2 separate regions of the Homo sapiens genome follow, and region 1 is linked to region 2. Evidence: promoter capture Hi-C in human tissues and cell types (Jung and others, 2019). All regions are on one chromosome and are shown on one strand. The core of a region is centred on a gene start or on the middle of the fragment in contact, and the rest is flanking DNA. Distances in the headings are between cores, read along the strand shown.

Region 1 (3,227 bases), core at 441-2,940, 140 kb before region 2:
CAAGATCGCCTCACTGCACTCCAGCCTGGGCGACAGAGCGAGACTCCCTCTCAAAAAAAAAGACACAAATGTGCGGTCATCTAGAAAACACTGAGATACACATCTCATATATACATGAGCTACATGAGACGTGTATCTCATTTTTTTCTAGATGACTGCCCAATTCAGTCCACATTCAGCATGACTGAATTTCAAGTAGGTCACAAACTTAAATATTAAAAATATGAAAACATGAAAGAACATTAAAAACAATTTTGGACTCAGAGAGGCCTAACTATGACCAAAATCTAAAAGCCATAAAATAAAATTTTTTTGTGTCAATAGATAAATGTAAAAACTGTACATGACAGAAAATACCATAATCAAAGTCAAAAGAAAAATAGCAAACTGGAAAAATATGTTTATAACTCATATCATAGAGAGGGCCAATCCCCTGATACATAAAGTCCTAGAAACTGATTTAAAAAAAAAATCAGCCAGAAACCCAGTAGAAAAAGGAGCACAGAATGTGAAGAGTAGCTGGTCCACAGAGAAGGAGCACCAGTGGCTCCTAGACACGGACTCACAGGAAGGCAGTGCAGTTCCAGACAGCACTCAGAGACACCTGCCATTTTTCATCTCTCAGACCCACAGAAAGCCAGCGTTTTGATTTTTTTATTTAAAAAAATTTTTTTAGAGACAGAGTCTTGCTGTGTCACCTTAGGGGCTGGAGTACAACCTTGAACTCCTGGGCTCGAATTGTCCTCCTGCCTCAGCCTCCTGAGTAGCTGGGTCTACAGGTGCATGCCACTCTGCCCAACTAATTTTATTTTTTATTTTTTCTGTAGAGACAGAGTCTCACTTTGTGGCATTTATACAGTTTTGTATTGCAGCATTTTTGTAGTAAAAAGATAACAATAATTTATGTGTACATTGATGGAGTAACAAGTTAATTATGTCACTTCTACATTATACAGAACTAAAAGGAAATTCTATCTATGTATTGATATGAAAAGATCACTAAAGTACATTGTTAAATTAAAAGCAAGGTGCAGAAAAACATGTACAGCACACACCCTATTTTGTGGGGTAGGAGGAAGAAAACGTGTGTGTGTGTATGTGAGTGTGTGTATGCATGCATGCACACGTAGTGTATCAGCTTCTACAGAATGTTCTAAATTCTCTGGAAGGGCAAATAAGAAACTGCTATGAGTAGTGCCTCTTCGAGAGAACAGGAACTAAGCAAATGGGGTGGCATGAGATGAAAACTTTCTTTATACCTTGTTTATACTTTTGAATCGTGTGAATGTATTCATGTTCAAAAAAATATAGTTTATAAAAGCATTCAGTTAATAATCAGCAGAAACCAGAAACTAAAATCAGAGCTCTCCGCTCATGAGGAGTAGAAGTGATTACAGACATCAAAAAGAATCCTTTTTACAGTTGGGCTGGCAAATAATCCAGTTAATGATGGGACCAAAAATAGCAAATTGGTAAATTAAAATCTTGACTAATCTGGCTCTGGCAGCATAGTAATGATTGAAATAGCCCCAAAATAAGCTAGTTCCTTGAGGAAAGAAAGCCTGTTTATAGAGCTCCATATGCTCCATGATATAGCTGTGGCAGGCTCAATTGTGAAAAACACTATGAAGAATATTTTTGGAAGGGAATTTTTTTCATATTGTAATAATGCATCATTAGAACCTTTGCATTTATAGGCTCAGAGGGAAGTTATTGAGAAGCCTCCTGGCTCTTCTGTGGTGCCGAGCCCTCCCCCACCCCCACTGCTCTTTCTGTAGCTGACCTTTTTCCTCATCCTCTCCTTCACTGACATTTTCCTCCTTATTCCTTTTCTCTACCCTATGAGCTATAAGTAACAAATAGTTAATAAAATTAACAGGTTGTTTCATCCTTTCTTCTTGCTGCCTCTTTACTCATTGGAATAAACCCCCTCATTTTATCATTTTTCAGAATAAAGCTTAGAAAAGGCAAAAAGTGTAATTTTTAGTAAACTTCACATAGGGCTGTGTTCAAGGGAGCGCTTAGGATTATTGGATAGTAAAAGTAGTCTATATTTGTGATAAACTAAATTAATTATCTGGGAAAGAGAAATAATTATCTTGCTTTAAGTTCATAAATTGCACATATATACCAACCTGCAAATGTACCTTGATGCTTTCCGTAGCAGTAGCCACGAAATACTGTTAGGGAGTTTCTGGAATACAGCATTATTCAATGTTAATACAAAAAGATCCTGTGACTTTTAAATGACCCTGAATTTAGGCTGTCTCCCATTTCTGGTAGAAATGCATTAAAATGTAGCTCATGGACTTCCCCCTTTCCCACACTTTGTTCAAGGGCATGAAGACGTCTGGCAAGCAGGATGAGGCCTGGATCATGAGCCGGCTGATCAAACAACTCACAGACATGGGCTTCCCGGTAACTGGCGTCGTAGTTTACTGCTACCCACCATGCTTCCCAAAATGAAATGCCCTCATTGTTTCCTCTCCATGTTTGTTATGTGTGTCAGAAGACACCAAGATTGTTTGAGGAATGAGATATTGACATCATCTAACTCTTAAATCTCCCTTTTACCTGGGTAGTTTGGGTTAGAGATCATTGCTTTGAACTACAGCAAAGACCCACACAATTTCTATCAAAAAGGGTGTGAGAGCCTTTTCCTAGAATAGAAAATGCTTTTTTTTTTTGGAGACAGGGTCTTGCTCTGGCACCTAGGCTGCAGTGCAGTGGTGTGATCAAGCAGTCCTCCTGTCTCGGCCTCCCGAGTAGAGCTGGGACTACAGGCGTGAGCCACCATGCTCGGCTAATTTTTGTATTTTTGGTAGAGACGAGGCTTCACTGTGTTGGCCAGGCTGGTCTCGAACACCTGGGCTCAAGCGATCTGCCCGCCTCGGCCTCCCAAAGTGCTGGGATTACAGGCATGAGTCACTACGCCCAGCCGGAAAATGCTGTGTGATTTTTAATTTTCATTGGTTTATACAGTTTTATGTTTACTTTTAATTTATAATTAAACGTGAATTTCATTAGTGTATAGAGTATATTGACAGAGATCACAAAAGAAAACTTGATGTAAAGTACTAAGGTTTCATATCCAGAAAAAGTATCCTAACCAGACCTACTTAGTTCCTAAGTTTCCAGTCATACGTAGGGAGAATTCATAATTGTAGGGCGTTCCCCTGAAAATACCACAGTCTGTTCAATTCCTGAGATTGGATGGCAGTTCAGAT
Region 2 (3,574 bases), core at 486-2,985:
TTACAAACGGTTCAGGTAAACCACCCATATACATACATATACATGCATGTGATATATACACATACAGGGATGTGTGTGTGTTCACATATATGAGGGGAGAGAGACTAGGGGAGAGAAAGTAGGTTGGGGAGAGGGAGAGAGAAAGGAAAACAGGAGACAGAGAGAGAGCGGGGAGTAGAGAGAGGGAAGGGGTAAGAGAGGGAGAGGAGGAGAGAAAGGGAGGAAGAAGCAGAGAGTGAATGTTAAAGGAAACAGGCAAAACATAAACAGAAAATCTGGGTGAAGGGTATATGAGTATTCTTTGTACTATTCTTGCAATTATCTTTTATTTAAATTGACATCGGGCCGGGCGCAGTGGCTCACATCTGTAATCCCAGCACTTTGGGAGGCCGAGGCAGGCAGATCACTTGAGGTCAGGAGTTTGAGACCAGCCTGGCAAACATGGTGAAACCCCATCTCTACTAAAAATACAAAAATTAGCCTGGTGTGGTGGTGCATGCCTTTAATCTCAGCTACTCGGGAGGCTGAGGCAGGAGAATCGCTTGAACCCGTGGCGGGGAGGAGGTTGCAGTGAGCTGAGATCATGCCACTGCACTCCAGCCTGGGCGATAGAGCGAGACTCAGTTTCAAATAAATAAATAAACATCAAAATAAAAAGTTACTGTATTAAAGAATGGGGGCGGGGTGGGAGGGGTGGGGAGAGGTTGCAAAAATAAATAAATAAATAAATAAACCCCAAAATGAAAAAGACAGTGGAGGCACCAGGCCTGCGTGGGGCTGGAGGGCTAATAAGGCCAGGCCTCTTATCTCTGGCCATAGAACCAGAGAAGTGAGTGGATGTGATGCCCAGCTCCAGAAGTGACTCCAGAACACCCTGTTCCAAAGCAGAGGACACACTGATTTTTTTTTTAATAGGCTGCAGGACTTACTGTTGGTGGGACGCCCTGCTTTGCGAAGGGAAAGGAGGAGTTTGCCCTGAGCACAGGCCCCCACCCTCCACTGGGCTTTCCCCAGCTCCCTTGTCTTCTTATCACGGTAGTGGCCCAGTCCCTGGCCCCTGACTCCAGAAGGTGGCCCTCCTGGAAACCCAGGTCGTGCAGTCAACGATGTACTCGCCGGGACAGCGATGTCTGCTGCACTCCATCCCTCCCCTGTTCATTTGTCCTTCATGCCCGTCTGGAGTAGATGCTTTTTGCAGAGGTGGCACCCTGTAAAGCTCTCCTGTCTGACTTTTTTTTTTTTTTTAGACTGAGTTTTGCTCTTGTTGCCTAGGCTGGAGTGCAATGGCACAATCTCAGCTCACTGCACCCTCTGCCTCCCGGGTTCAAGCGATTCTCCTGCCTCAGCCTCCCGAGTAGTTGGGATTACAGGCATGCACCACCACGCCCAGCTAATTTTTGTATTTTTAGTAGAGACAAGGTTTCACCGTGATGGCCAGGCTGGTCTTGAACTCCAGGACTCAAGTGATGCTCCTGCCTAGGCCTCTCAAAGTGTTGGGATTACAGGCGTGAGCCACTGCACCCGGCCTGCACGCGTTCTTTGAAAGCAGTCGAGGGGGCGCTAGGTGTGGGCAGGGACGAGCTGGCGCGGCGTCGCTGGGTGCACCGCGACCACGGGCAGAGCCACGCGGCGGGAGGACTACAACTCCCGGCACACCCCGCGCCGCCCCGCCTCTACTCCCAGAAGGCCGCGGGGGGTGGACCGCCTAAGAGGGCGTGCGCTCCCGACATGCCCCGCGGCGCGCCATTAACCGCCAGATTTGAATCGCGGGACCCGTTGGCAGAGGTGGCGGCGGCGGCATGGGTGCCCCGACGTTGCCCCCTGCCTGGCAGCCCTTTCTCAAGGACCACCGCATCTCTACATTCAAGAACTGGCCCTTCTTGGAGGGCTGCGCCTGCACCCCGGAGCGGGTGAGACTGCCCGGCCTCCTGGGGTCCCCCACGCCCGCCTTGCCCTGTCCCTAGCGAGGCCACTGTGACTGGGCCTCGGGGGTACAAGCCGCCCTCCCCTCCCCGTCCTGTCCCCAGCGAGGCCACTGTGGCTGGGCCCCTTGGGTCCAGGCCGGCCTCCCCTCCCTGCTTTGTCCCCATCGAGGCCTTTGTGGCTGGGCCTCGGGGTTCCGGGCTGCCACGTCCACTCACGAGCTGTGCTGTCCCTTGCAGATGGCCGAGGCTGGCTTCATCCACTGCCCCACTGAGAACGAGCCAGACTTGGCCCAGTGTTTCTTCTGCTTCAAGGAGCTGGAAGGCTGGGAGCCAGATGACGACCCCATGTAAGTCTTCTCTGGCCAGCCTCGATGGGCTTTGTTTTGAACTGAGTTGTCAAAAGATTTGAGTTGCAAAGACACTTAGTATGGGAGGGTTGCTTTCCACCCTCATTGCTTCTTAAACAGCTGTTGTGAACGGATACCTCTCTATATGCTGGTGCCTTGGTGATGCTTACAACCTAATTAAATCTCATTTGACCAAAATGCCTTGGGGTGGACGTAAGATGCCTGATGCCTTTCATGTTCAACAGAATACATCAGCAGACCCTGTTGTTGTGAACTCCCAGGAACGTCCAAGTGCTTTTTTTGAGATTTTTTAAAAAACAGTTTAATTGAAATATAACCTACACAGCACAAAAATTACCCTTTGAAAGTGTGCACTTCACACTTTCGGAGGCTGAGGCGGGCGGATCACCTGAGGTCAGGAGTTCAAGACCTGCCTGGCCAACTTGGCGAAACCCCGTCTCTACTAAAAATACAAAAATTAGCCGGGCATGGTAGCGCACGCCCGTAATCCCAGCTACTCGGGAGGCTAAGGCAGGAGAATCGCTTGAACCTGGGAGGCGGAGGTTGCAGTGAGCCGAGATTGTGCCAATGCACTCCAGCCTCGGCGACAGAGCGAGACTCCGTCATAAAAATAAAAAATTGAAAAAAAAAAAAGAAAGAAAGCATATACTTCAGTGTTGTTCTGGATTTTTTTCTTCAAGATGCCTAGTTAATGACAATGAAATTCTGTACTCGGATGGTATCTGTCTTTCCACACTGTAATGCCATATTCTTTTCTCACCTTTTTTTCTGTCGGATTCAGTTGCTTCCACAGCTTTAATTTTTTTCCCCTGGAGAATCACCCCAGTTGTTTTTCTTTTTGGCCAGAAGAGAGTAGCTGTTTTTTTTCTTAGTATGTTTGCTATGGTGGTTATACTGCATCCCCGTAATCACTGGGAAAAGATCAGTGGTATTCTTCTTGAAAATGAATAAGTGTTATGATATTTTCAGATTAGAGTTACAACTGGCTGTCTTTTTGGACTTTGTGTGGCCATGTTTTCATTGTAATGCAGTTCTGGTAACGGTGATAGTCAGTTATACAGGGAGACTCCCCTAGCAGAAAATGAGAGTGTGAGCTAGGGGGTCCCTTGGGGAACCCGGGGCAATAATGCCCTTCTCTGCCCTTAATCCTTACAGTGGGCCGGGCACGGTGGCTTACGCCTGTAATACCAGCACTTTGGGAGGCCGAGGCGGGCGGATCACGAGGTCAGGAGATCGAGACCATCTTGGCTAATACGGTGAAACCCCGTCTCCACTAAAAAT

The links. Contacts are between HindIII fragments. The study calls those that stand out against the background at their distance.
Region 1: a fragment that was not itself captured here is called in contact with the fragment with the promoter of BIRC5 in region 2 in 1 of the 25 tissues and cell types used here (spleen).

Annotation. Positions count from the first base shown.
Region 1 is chr17:78,068,748-78,071,974 of GRCh38, forward strand. It overlaps TNRC6C (trinucleotide repeat containing adaptor 6C), which reads left to right. Exons shown (of 23, transcript NM_001142640.2): 8 at 2,338-2,418. Among named protein-coding and RNA genes, the nearest start is that of TMC6, 58 kb to the right of the region's middle. The HindIII fragment of the contact is 3,903 bases long and covers 1-3,227 here.
Region 2 is chr17:78,212,518-78,216,091 of GRCh38, forward strand. It overlaps BIRC5 (baculoviral IAP repeat containing 5), which reads left to right and starts at 1,736. Exons shown (of 4, transcript NM_001168.3): 1 at 1,736-1,910; 2 at 2,163-2,272. The coding sequence starts at 1,800. RefSeq lists an enhancer at 1,481-2,382. The HindIII fragment of the contact is 20,243 bases long and covers 1-3,574 here.